Regions from separate parts of the Homo sapiens genome. Here region 1 is linked to region 2. The links are contacts of gene promoters, found by promoter capture Hi-C in human tissues and cell types (Jung and others, 2019). All regions are on one chromosome and are shown on one strand. The core of a region is centred on a gene start or on the middle of the fragment in contact, and the rest is flanking DNA. Distances in the headings are between cores, read along the strand shown.

What was found. Contacts are between HindIII fragments. The study calls those that stand out against the background at their distance.
Region 1: a fragment that was not itself captured here is called in contact with the fragment with the promoter of KDM5A in region 2 in 1 of the 25 tissues and cell types used here (spleen).

Annotation. Positions count from the first base shown.
Region 1 is chr12:941,030-946,306 of GRCh38, forward strand. The region is part of intron 1 of RAD52 (RAD52 DNA repair protein); the gene reads right to left. Among named protein-coding and RNA genes, the nearest start is that of RAD52, 6.0 kb to the right of the region's middle. The HindIII fragment of the contact is 3,456 bases long and covers 1-3,330 here.
Region 2 is chr12:388,070-393,785 of GRCh38, forward strand. It overlaps KDM5A (lysine demethylase 5A), which reads right to left and starts at 1,251. Exons shown (of 28, transcript NM_001042603.3): 1 at 858-1,251. The coding sequence starts at 1,022. LOC105369594 (a long non-coding RNA gene) reads right to left here. Exons shown (of 4, transcript XR_007063149.1): 3 at 3,652-3,770; 4 at 1,964-2,872. It also overlaps a transcript of CCDC77 not described here. RefSeq lists an enhancer at 1,414-1,708. The HindIII fragment of the contact is 14,723 bases long and covers 1-5,716 here.

The sequences.
Region 1 (5,277 bases), core at 353-2,852, 550 kb after region 2:
CCGACAGACATAAATTTACAGATTTAAGAAGCTCTGCAAATCTCAAGAATAAATCTCCGGATAAATACAAATAAAATGACACCTAGATACACCACAGACAAACTGCTAAAAAACAAAAATAAAGAGAAAATCTTGAAAGCAGGTAGAGAATGATAACACATTACATACAGAGTAATGAATGATGCAAATGATGGCTCCATTTTACAATAAAGGTAAGAAACATATCTAGAAATCAATTTAACAAAATATGTATAAGACTTCTGAACTGAAAACCATAAAACAGAACTAAAAGAATTTTTTTTTTTTGAGACAGAGTTTCACTCTTGTTGCCCAGGCTGGAGTGCAATGGCACCATCTCGGCTCACTGCAACCTCTGCCTCCCAGGTTCAAGTGATTCTCCTGCCTCAGCCTCCAGAGTAGCTGGGATTACAGGCATGCGCCACCATGCCTGGCAAATTTTGTATTTTTCGTAGAGACAGGGTTTCTCCATGTTGGTCAGGCTGGTCTCAAACTCCTGACCTCAGGTGATCCACCCGGCTCAGCCTCCCAAATTGCTGGGATTACAGGTGTGAGCCGCCACACCTGGCCCAAAATTTTTATTTTTATTATTATTATTTTTTGAGACAGAGTTTTGCTCTTGTTGCCCAGGCTGGAGTGCAATGGCACTATCTCAGCTCACTGCAACCTCCACCTCCTGAGCAAGTTCAAGCAGTTCTCCTGCCTCAGCCTCCCAAGTAGCTGAGACTACAGGCACCTGCCACCACACCTGGCTAATTTTTGTATTTTTAGTAGAGACGGGGTTTCACCATGTTGGCCAGGCTGGTCTCGAACTCCTGACCTCAGCTGATCTGCCCGCTGCAGACTCCCAAAGTGCTGGGATTACAGGCATAAGCCACTGCACCCGGCCTAAAAAGAAATTTTAAAAGGCTTAAATAAGAAGGAAAATGCACCAAGTTCATATATTTGAAGACTCAATACTGTTTAGGTGTCATTTCTTTCCAAATTGATCCATAGATTCAATGCAATCCCAATCACAACTTTACCAGACTTTTCTGTAAAACTGGTAAAGATAATTCTGATATTTATATGGAAATGCAGAGGATTTAGAATATTCACATCAAGCTTGAAAACAACAAAATTGGAAGACCTACAACTACATGACTTCAAGACTTACTAAAAAGCTACAGTAATTAAAAGTGTGGTACTAACACAAGGATTGAACAATGGAACAGAAAAGGGAGTGCAGACATCAATTACCATTTGTACAGTCATCTTAATTTCCAAAACGCAATACAATAGCATTTTCAACAAATGGTGCTGGAATGACTGGATATCTATATGGAAAAGAAATTAATATTTAATTATATCTCACACCATTCACCTAAACTAGAAATGGGTGATAGGCTTAAACATAAAACTAAAACTATAAAATTTATAGGCCGGGCACGGTGGCTCACGCCTATAATCCCAGCATGTTGGGAGACCGAGGCGGGTGGATCACAAGGTCAAGAGTTCAAGACCAACCTGGCCAACCTGGTGAAACCCTGTCTCTAATAAAAATACAAAAATTAGTTGGGCATGGTGGCGCATGTCTGTAATCCCAGCTACTCGGGAGGCTGGGGCAGGAGAATCGCTTGAACCTGGGAGGCAGAGGTTGCAGTGAGCGGAGATCGCCATCACCGCACTCCAGCCTGGACGACAGAGCAAGACTCTGTCTCAAAAAAAAAAAAAACTTACAGAAGAAAACATGAAAGATTATCTTCACAGCCTGAAGGTAGCCAAGATTTCCTAGGACTCAGAAAGCAGTAACTATAAAAGAAAATATAAGAGAAAACTGATTACATCAAAATGTAAAACTTCTGTTCATCAGACAACTCTAAGAAAATGAATAGGCAACCAGACAGAGGACAGGTAACCAGGATATAAAGGTTATATAAATAACTGCTACAACTCAATAATAAAAAGACACACAACCCAATGTAAAATGGGCAAAAGATTTGAGCAGGCACTTCACAAAGGAAGATGCACATTGTCATGGGCACAGGAAAAAGTGCTAAACACCATTAGTGACTGAGGACTAAAATTAAGACCATGACACACCACACCCATCAGAATAACTCAAAAGACTGACAACACCAAATGCTGGCAAGGATGTAAAGCAACTGGAACTCTCATACACTGTTGGCAGGAAACAGGCTGATAAAACCACTCAGCTGTTAATGCACACTACTCTTCATGAAAACCAAAGGCCGACTCCAAGGACGGAGCCACACGTCCAGGGAGTAGAGCAGCAGAGGCCCAATCCCAGGCCTGGAGCCCTACTGGTTTTTTGAGACGAAGTCTTGTTCAGTCGCCCAGGCTGGAGTGCAGTGGCACAATCTCGGCTCACTGCAACCTCCATCTTCCTGACTGAAGCAATTCTCCAGCCTCAGCCTCCCGAGTAACTGGGACTACAGGCACGTGCCATCACGCCCAGCTAATTCTAATTCTTGTATTTTTAGTAGAGATGGGGTTTCACTATATTGCTCAGGCTGGTCTCGAACTCCTGAGCTCAAGTGATCCCCCCGCCTCGGCCTCCCAAAGTGCCAGGATTACAGACGTGAGCCACCGCGCCTGGCCTATTAGTTCTTTATTTATCTTGAATATCAGTCTTTTGTCAAATAGGTCCCTGTGTTTCCCCATTCATTTTCTTAGAGTAGTCTGTGATTACATTTTGATGTAATCAATCATATTTATCTTTGTGTGTGTGGTTTTTTTTTTGGGTTTTTTTTGCTTTTTTAAGTGACTCTGGCATCCTGAGCCCTAAGAAACCTTTGCACACACTCAGGTCATGAAGATATTCTTCTCATCTTCTTCCAGAAGCCTCACGGTTTTCTAATTTTGAAAATAGGTCTGGGCGGGGCCCGCTGGGTGCAGTTGCTCACACCTGTAATCCCAGCACTTTGGGAGGCTGAGGCAGGCGGATTGCATGAGGTGAGGAGTTCAAGACCAGCCTGGCCAACATCATGAAACTCCATCTCTACAAAAAATACAAAAATTAGCTGGGCCTGGTGGAATGTTCCCGTAGTCCTAGCTACTCAGGGGGCTGAGGTGGAAGGCTTGCTTCAGCCTGGAAGGTAGAGGCTGCAGTGAGAAGAGATCACCCCACTGCACTCCAGCCTGGGTGACAGAACGAGACTGTCTCAAAAAAAAAGAAAGAAAGAAATTAAGTAGCCAGGAGTGGTGGCTCACGCCTGTAATCCCAGCACTTGAGGCTGAAGTGGAAGGATCGCTTGAGGCTCAGGAGTTCAAGACAAGCCTAGGGAACATGGCTGTCTCTACAAGCAGCAAAACGTTAGTCGGGCATGGTGGAGCATGCCGGCAGTCCCAGCTACTCAGGAAGCTGTGGTGGGAGGATCACTTGAGCGGGGGCGAGGAAGGGGTCAAGGCTGCAGTGAGCCATGATCATACCACTACACTCCAGCCTGGGCAACAGAGGAAGACCCTGTCTCAAAAAAGAAAGAAAGAAATTAAATATGTATCTGTCATATGATCCCAAAATTCTGATAGGTGTTTTCCCAGAGGAAATAAAAACATGGTAAAAAAAAAAAAAAAAAAAACTCAGGGGTAGAAGGGAGAGAGCCTGGACTAGGATAGTGGCTATGGCAAGAAATCATGAATTCAAGATATTAAAAAGGTAAAGACTGGCAAAGATGTTTTATTCTTCTCCATTTCCTTATCACCTAAAAGCATTTTTCTTTCTTTTTTTTTTTTTTTGAGGAGTCTCACACTGTTGCCCAAGCTGCAGTGCAATGGCACAATCTCGGCTCACAAAACCATTTCTTATTATATGTGGAGGGCTGAAGAAGCATGTCAGGTGGACTCTGGATATACAGATCAAGAGGGAGATGTGACAAGGTGATGGGTGAGATTCTGACTGTGAAGGTCAAGAACGGCTTGATGAACAAGACTGGAGCAAGTTTCTTTTATTTTCATTTATGAACACAGTACTATAATGTTCATGAAACTTTAAAAAAATTAGCAAAAGTAGAAAAAAAGTGGCCAGGCACGGTGGCTCACATCTGTAATCTCAGCACTTTGGAAGGCCAATGCAGACAGATCACCTGAGGTCAGGAGTTCAAGACCAGCCCGGCTAACATGATGAAACCTCTTCTCTACTAAAGATACAAAAATTAGCTGGGCATGGTGGCAGGTGCCTGTAATCTCAGCTCCTCAGGAGGCTAAGGCACAAGAATCGCTTGAATCCAGGAGGCGAAGGTTGCAGTGAGCCAAGATCGCACCACTGCACTCTAGCCTGAGCAAGAGTGAGACTCTGTCTCAAAAAAAAAAAGTAGAAAAAAAATTTTTAATTGAAATCTCAAAATGTCATTACCTCTAAAGCCTTATGCAGCTCACCACACTCTGAAGTATGTCTTTTTTTTTTTGAGGGGGAGACACTCTGTTGCCCAGGCTGGAGTACAGTGGCGCAATCTCAGCTCACTGCAACCTCCACCTCCCAGGTTCAAGTGATTCTGGTGCCTCAGCCTCCTGAGTAGCTGGAACTACAGGCATGCGCGACCACACCCAGCTAATTTTCTGTACTTTTAGTAGAGGCAGGGGTTTCACCATGTTGGCCAGGCTGGTCTCGAACTCCTGACCTCAGGTGATCTGCCCACCTCGGCCTCCCAAAATGCTGGGATTACAGGCATAAGCCACCACACCTGGCCTGAAGTAAGTCTTAAAATTTGTGGGAACCCAGTAATCCCAGCACTTTGGGAGGCCGAGGCAGGCAGATCATGAGGTCAGGAGTTCGAGACCAGCCCGGCCAACATGGTGAAACTCCGTCTCTACTAAAAATACAAAAATTAGCTGGGCACGGTGGCGGGTACCTGTAATCCCAGCTACTCGGGAGGTTGAGGCAGGAGAATCGCTTGAACCTGGGAGACGGAGGTTGCAGTGAGCCGAGATCACGCCACCGCACTCCAGCCTGGGCGACAAGAGTGAAACTCCGTCTCAAAAAAAACAAAAAAACACGGTGGGAACATAGGATTAATTCCCTCACACTGATCATTTCTCTGCACTCCCACACTCAGCCATTAGAGAACTGCGGGGCCATACACTAATCACTGAATCCCCAACACTCAGCACAGTCCCCACTCAGCACATAGTATGAAGAGCATTTTAGCCTTATTTTAGCTTCTCTCCACATCAAAACTGCCAGTTCAATATTAAAAATGAGTGCCTTGAGTGAAGAAATGCTAAAAGCTGCAGAGATGGAAAAATATCCACTAGGCTTTC
Region 2 (5,716 bases), core at 1-2,500:
TTTAAACAAGCATCCAGTTGACCCTGGTGCAAGTGGTCCAGCAACATCATTTAAAAAGCACTGGTCTAATGAGTAAAGAAAAACACCTTTGACCTTGAGTAATCACTCAACCTCTTGGGGCATTAATCCCCTCCACACAAGGGATAGTATCTGTTTTCCTTACCTCAAAGGTGAGATTATAATTAACCTTATAGGCAAACCTAGTTATCTGCAATAACTGTGATTCTAAAATCGTTGATCTTGAGTTCCCTACGTCAAGAGATTTCAACATTTCCTTCCACCTCCACTATAAACCAATTTTTCCTAAACCTCTAAATTTTAGAATTATTGCTGCTCCTTCTCTTTCCCCGCTAAGACTTTTTCACTGCGGCAATAATTAGTCTGGAGTTCTTGTCTAGTAATACCATCCGGTGAGACTAGAGCTCAGATAACCTTTTCAGAAACCCTAGCCCTGAGATGAGGCCTGCAAATATTTGATCCAACCAGGTCTTGAATAAAGAGATAGCCGACTATCAAACCATAATGAGGATACGTGAGGGAAGAATACGTCACGTCATAATACTGTACTTTAAACACCATATCGGCTAACGAAAGGCTTTAGGCCCACGGCTGAGAGAAAAGTATCAGTTCCCAAGTTCTAGGCGGAAGAGGCCCAAGAGACACCACTTTCTCGCTTTCAGACGTGTCTACATAAGACCACAAAAGAAACCGAGGCAAAAACATCCAGAAACAGGCTCCAGTTGTCTCAAAAGAGAGTACATATGAAACGAGACAAGGATCAGAAAAGTAAAGCTAAACCCAGTGTACGGACTCCCCCATTCTTCCTTCTCCCCCTCTCTCTTCACAGACTGAGGTACCTTGGGCGGCCGAATTTTGCAGATGCCGGTTTTCTCCGCCAAAGGCCGGATGCGGCCGATAAAGCTGAGCGGATCTGTGAACTCCTCCCAACTCGGCTCAAAGACGGGGCACTCTGGCGGTGGCACGAACTCCGCCGCGTAGCCCCCCGGCCCCACGCCCGCCATTGCAACGGCCGGGGGGGGGGGGGGGTCCCCGTGGGGAACCGGTGGAGAAAAGCTGGCTGAAGCCCACTAAGCCCGTTCAAGTCCCCTGACAGAGGCCGAAGCGCATCTTCGCGGACAAGAACCGTTCAACACAGAAACCCCAGAATCGCTTCCTCCTCCCGTTTGTTATTGTTTCTTGCAAGGCTTTTCCACTGAGGTTCAGGACTTTTCCGGAAGTTACCGTGCTGTCAAATCCCTCCGCCCCCTGCAGGAAACGGAATCCTTCCGCAGCTGCACGACGCCTGTGTGTCTGGCCTTTCCTTCTTCTTCTCTTCCCCGGCAGCACAGTGTGGCTGTTTGTCTCCTTGCCCGCCAAAGTTCTGCCCAGTCCAACGACTCCACGCAGCTCGCCCTTGGTAAGGGGTCGGGGAGGGGCACAAGCTCTTCTTTACTAGAGGTACGGATTGAGGGAAGCCGACGGGGCGAGGCGGGGCGAGGCGCAACGAGGCGGGGCGAGGCGCGACGCGACGTGACGCTTTCTTCCGGCGCGGAGGAATGTGTAATGCCCCAGAGGGCAGAGGTTGTGCTTCCGGTGAGGAGGGTCCCTTTCCCTTTTGTGTATCAGTGCACTCGAAAACACGCCGGGCTTAATCTTAAGCACCGCGCCTCACCGCCCGTGCTTCGTAATTTGTTTTAACCTACCCTGCTGCGTTTATAGCAAGTAGCCTTTCCAGCATTTCTCTTTTTTTAGCCCTTTGAATGCAGATATTTTACAGTAATCTCACTCTGCCACTTTATACCCGCCTCTTCTCCATCAAAACAAGTGCAGGTCTAACCCATCCCCTAAATCCTGCCAGCTGGCTTTAGCCACCATCCATGAATTGCTTTTCCTTTTACACAGGACGCAGCAGCTCTCCTGAATTACCAGCCAGTATCGTCTAGCTACCTGCAGGACATCTCACTTTGATAACTCAAAGTACTTTAATTGTTCACTGTTTCTTCAGTGTTCCTGGTTTCCATTAATGACTTCATCTATTCAGTTGCCTGAGCAAAAAAAAAAAAAAAAAAAAAAAATCAAGAAATAATCCTAATTCTTTCTGCTCTCACTTCCCATGTATAATCGTGTGTCTCTCCATCCCCGTTACCAGTATCCTAATTTAAATACTCTTACTGACAACAGCTGATTTCTCCTCTCAAATCCCTCTCCATCCACACGTTGGATTGCTTTGTCTAAAATCCAGAATTCATCTTGTCACTTTTCATCTCCAAACTCAACAACTCCAAACATCTTTTTTAATTGCTGATTTGCTGCTTTGCTCTCCAGCTTCATCTCTCCTGCTTCTCCATATGATCTACAGAAGTTTTTGTGGTGACTTTAGTACACCATGATTTTTCTCACCTCTGAGTAACAAATCAGGGGACTTTGAATAACGCAGATTGCCCTCCATAATGTGAGTAGGCCTTATCCAATCAACTGAAGGCCTGAATAGAACAAAAGACTGACCTTCCATGAGCAAGAAGGAATTTTGCCAGTAGATGGCTCTCAGACTTGAACTGTAGCATCACCTTTTCCCTGGCCTCCAGCCTGCCAACCCACCCTGCAGATTTTGGACTTGGAAGCTCTATAATCAAGTGAGTCAAGTCCTTAAAATAAATATCTTTATAAACACACACACACACACACACACACATCTTATTGGTTCTGTTTCTCTGGAGAACCGTGAATACATCTAGGGTTGGAGGGTTCAAGATGGCCTCACTTACGTGTCTGGCAGTTGGTGCTGGCTATTGGCTGGGAAGTCTTAGTTCTCCACATGGCTTCTCATCTTCTGGTAGATGGAGCTTTTCCACTGCATGGTGGTCTTAGCATTCTAAGAAGATGAGAGTGGAAGCAAAGACCTAAAGCCTAGACTCCAAAATGTACAAGATCACTCCATCATATTCTGTTGGTCAAAGCAAGTCATAAGACCATCCCAGATTCAAGAAGTGGGAAAATTCCAATTTTTTATGAGAAGAGTGACAATGTCACATTACAAAGGGGTGTAGACACAGGACGCTGTGATTCATAATAATTCCATACAATTATTATAATGATTTATGTCCAGGTGCAGTGGCTCACGCCTGTAATCCCAGCACTTTTTGAGGCCAAGGCGGGCAGATCACCTGAGGTCAGGAGTTTGAGACCAGCCTGGCCAACATGGTGAAATCCTGTCTCTATTAAAAATGTACAACAATTAGCCCAGGCGTGGTGGCAGGCGCCTGTAATCCCAGCTATCCAGGAGGCTGAGGCAGGAGAATTGCTTGAACCCAGGAGGTGGAAGTTGTAGTAAGCCGAGATCGTGCCACTGTACTCCAGCCTAGGCAAGAAGAGTGAGACTCTGTCTCCAAAAAAAAAAAAATTTACAACAAAGTCTTTGATTTTTACCACTTAAATCTGGAAAACTATATTATTCGGAAAAAGAAATAATGGAATTCCGAATAAAACAAGCCACTGATAATTCATTTTATTAAACATTCAATTAAATGTAATGGTTTTGCTTTCAAATTAACAGAGCGTGAGAACCTGATAGAACCTCAGTATAAGCACAAATCCTTAAAAGCTTTGATTGGTCCTATTTATTTCCTGTTATTTTCTTCAGATTATACTTACCTATTTTATTTTAAACTGTCTCTCTAGTAGAATAGAAAATGTATAATGATTCTCAATCATTTTTATTTGCCACAGTACTTCTGAGAAATCTGTAGTGGTTGCTTACAACAGCAGGAAGTCTGTAAGAGAAGACAGTGAATAGAAGGGCAGCAAATATTAACATCTCTGGTGCGAACAGAAGAAACTTCTGTAGTTACAACCACCTCACATTCTGATGCTTCCCTCAGGGGGGGCACATGAACCCCACTCCCACCTCTCATGCTTACCCCTTTGAAAATCACTGTTGTAAAAATCCAAATTGTGTTTCATCAGCTTCTATGAGGGCATTCTGCACACACAATGTTAAACTGAGTCAATAGTATTTGGGTTTCTGGTCAGAACAGTGGAGTATAACTGTAGTTTAAAAGGATCATTTGCATTACTTAAACAATCCTTGACAGTAACTTTTCAGAAAAAAAAAAATTAGAGTATTATTTATCTGAAATTTATTATCCTGAGTGTTAAAATAGACTAAAATGAATACTTAGATCTGATAATCATTTGGCTAGACCGTGGTCCCTGGATTTTTAAAAAATGCAATAAAACCTCACAAAATCAGATTAATTAGGGTTAGTTTCAGAGAGGGAAAAGTCAAAATTACTGAATTCTTAAACAAATGTCATTTTAATTCAAGAATAATTTCCACCAGTGATTCTCAAACTGTTTTGGTGTCAGGACGCCTTTACTCTTAAAAATTATTGAGGCCAGGCACGGTGGCTCATACCTGTAATCCCAGCACTTTGGGAGGCCGAGGCGGGCAGATCACTTGAGGTTAGGAGTTCGAGACCAGCCTGGCCAACATGGAGAAACCGCATCTCTACTAAAAAATACAAAACTTAGCCGGGCGTAGTGGTGGGCACCTGTAATCCCAGCTACTTAGGAGGCTGAGGCAGGAGAATCGCTTGAACCTGGGTGGCGGAGGTTGCAGTGAGCCAAGATGGTGCCACTGTACTCCAGCCTGGGCAACAGAGTAAGACTCTGTCTCACAAAAAAAAAAATTATTGAGAACCCCCAAAGTTCTTGTTTATATGCATAATACATATTGATGTTTACTATATTAGAAATTAAACCTAAGATGTTTAAAATATTTTATTCATTTCAATATAAAACTTTTATATTTAAATACATTTTAAAAATAATAACTATATTTTCCAAAACAAAAAAATCTGGTGAGAAGAGTGGCATTGGTTTACATTTTTTGTACTTTTTTTTTTAACATTTGGCTTAGCAGGATCGAGCTGGATTATCATATCTGTTTCTCCAACCCGTTACAATATGTTCTTTTGGTTGGAATATATGAAGAAAAACCAGCACCACACAAATATGTAGTTGGGAAAGGAAGAGCATTTTATTTATTTTTTAATTTTTATTTTCTTAGACACAGGGTGTCACTCCGTTGCCCAGTTGGAGTGCAGTGGCACAACCCCAGCTTACTCCAACTCTTGGGCTCAGGCAATCCTCCTGCCTCAGCCTCCCAAGTAGCTAGGACCACAGGTGTGCATCGTTATGCCCAGCTAATTAAAAAAAATTTTTTTGTAGACATGGGATCTTGCTATGTTGCCCAGACTGATCTCAAACTCCTGGGCTCAGGGATCCTCCCACCTCGGCCCCCCAAAGTGCTGCGATTACAGGCATGAGCCACCATACGTAGTGCAGAGAAGCATTTTAATAACCTTCTCAGATGACTGTAATTTCTTAAAGGCTAACAATTTGGAATCTAAAACTTTATCAGTTAACTTTTTTACACTGTTACATTAAAATGGTAGTCAATCTTGTCCTTTTTTTTTTTTTGAGACAGAGTCTCGCCCTTCCCCCAGGCTGGAGTGCAATGGTGCGATCTCAGCTCATTGCAACCTCTGCCTCCTGGGTTCAAGCAATTCTCCTGCCTCAGCCTCCTGAGTAGCTGCGATTACAGGCACCCACCACCACACTCAGCTAATTTTTGTATTTTTAGTAGAGACGGAGTTTTGCCATTTTGGCCAGGCTGGTCTCGAATTCCTGGCCTCAGGTGATCCACCTGCCTCGG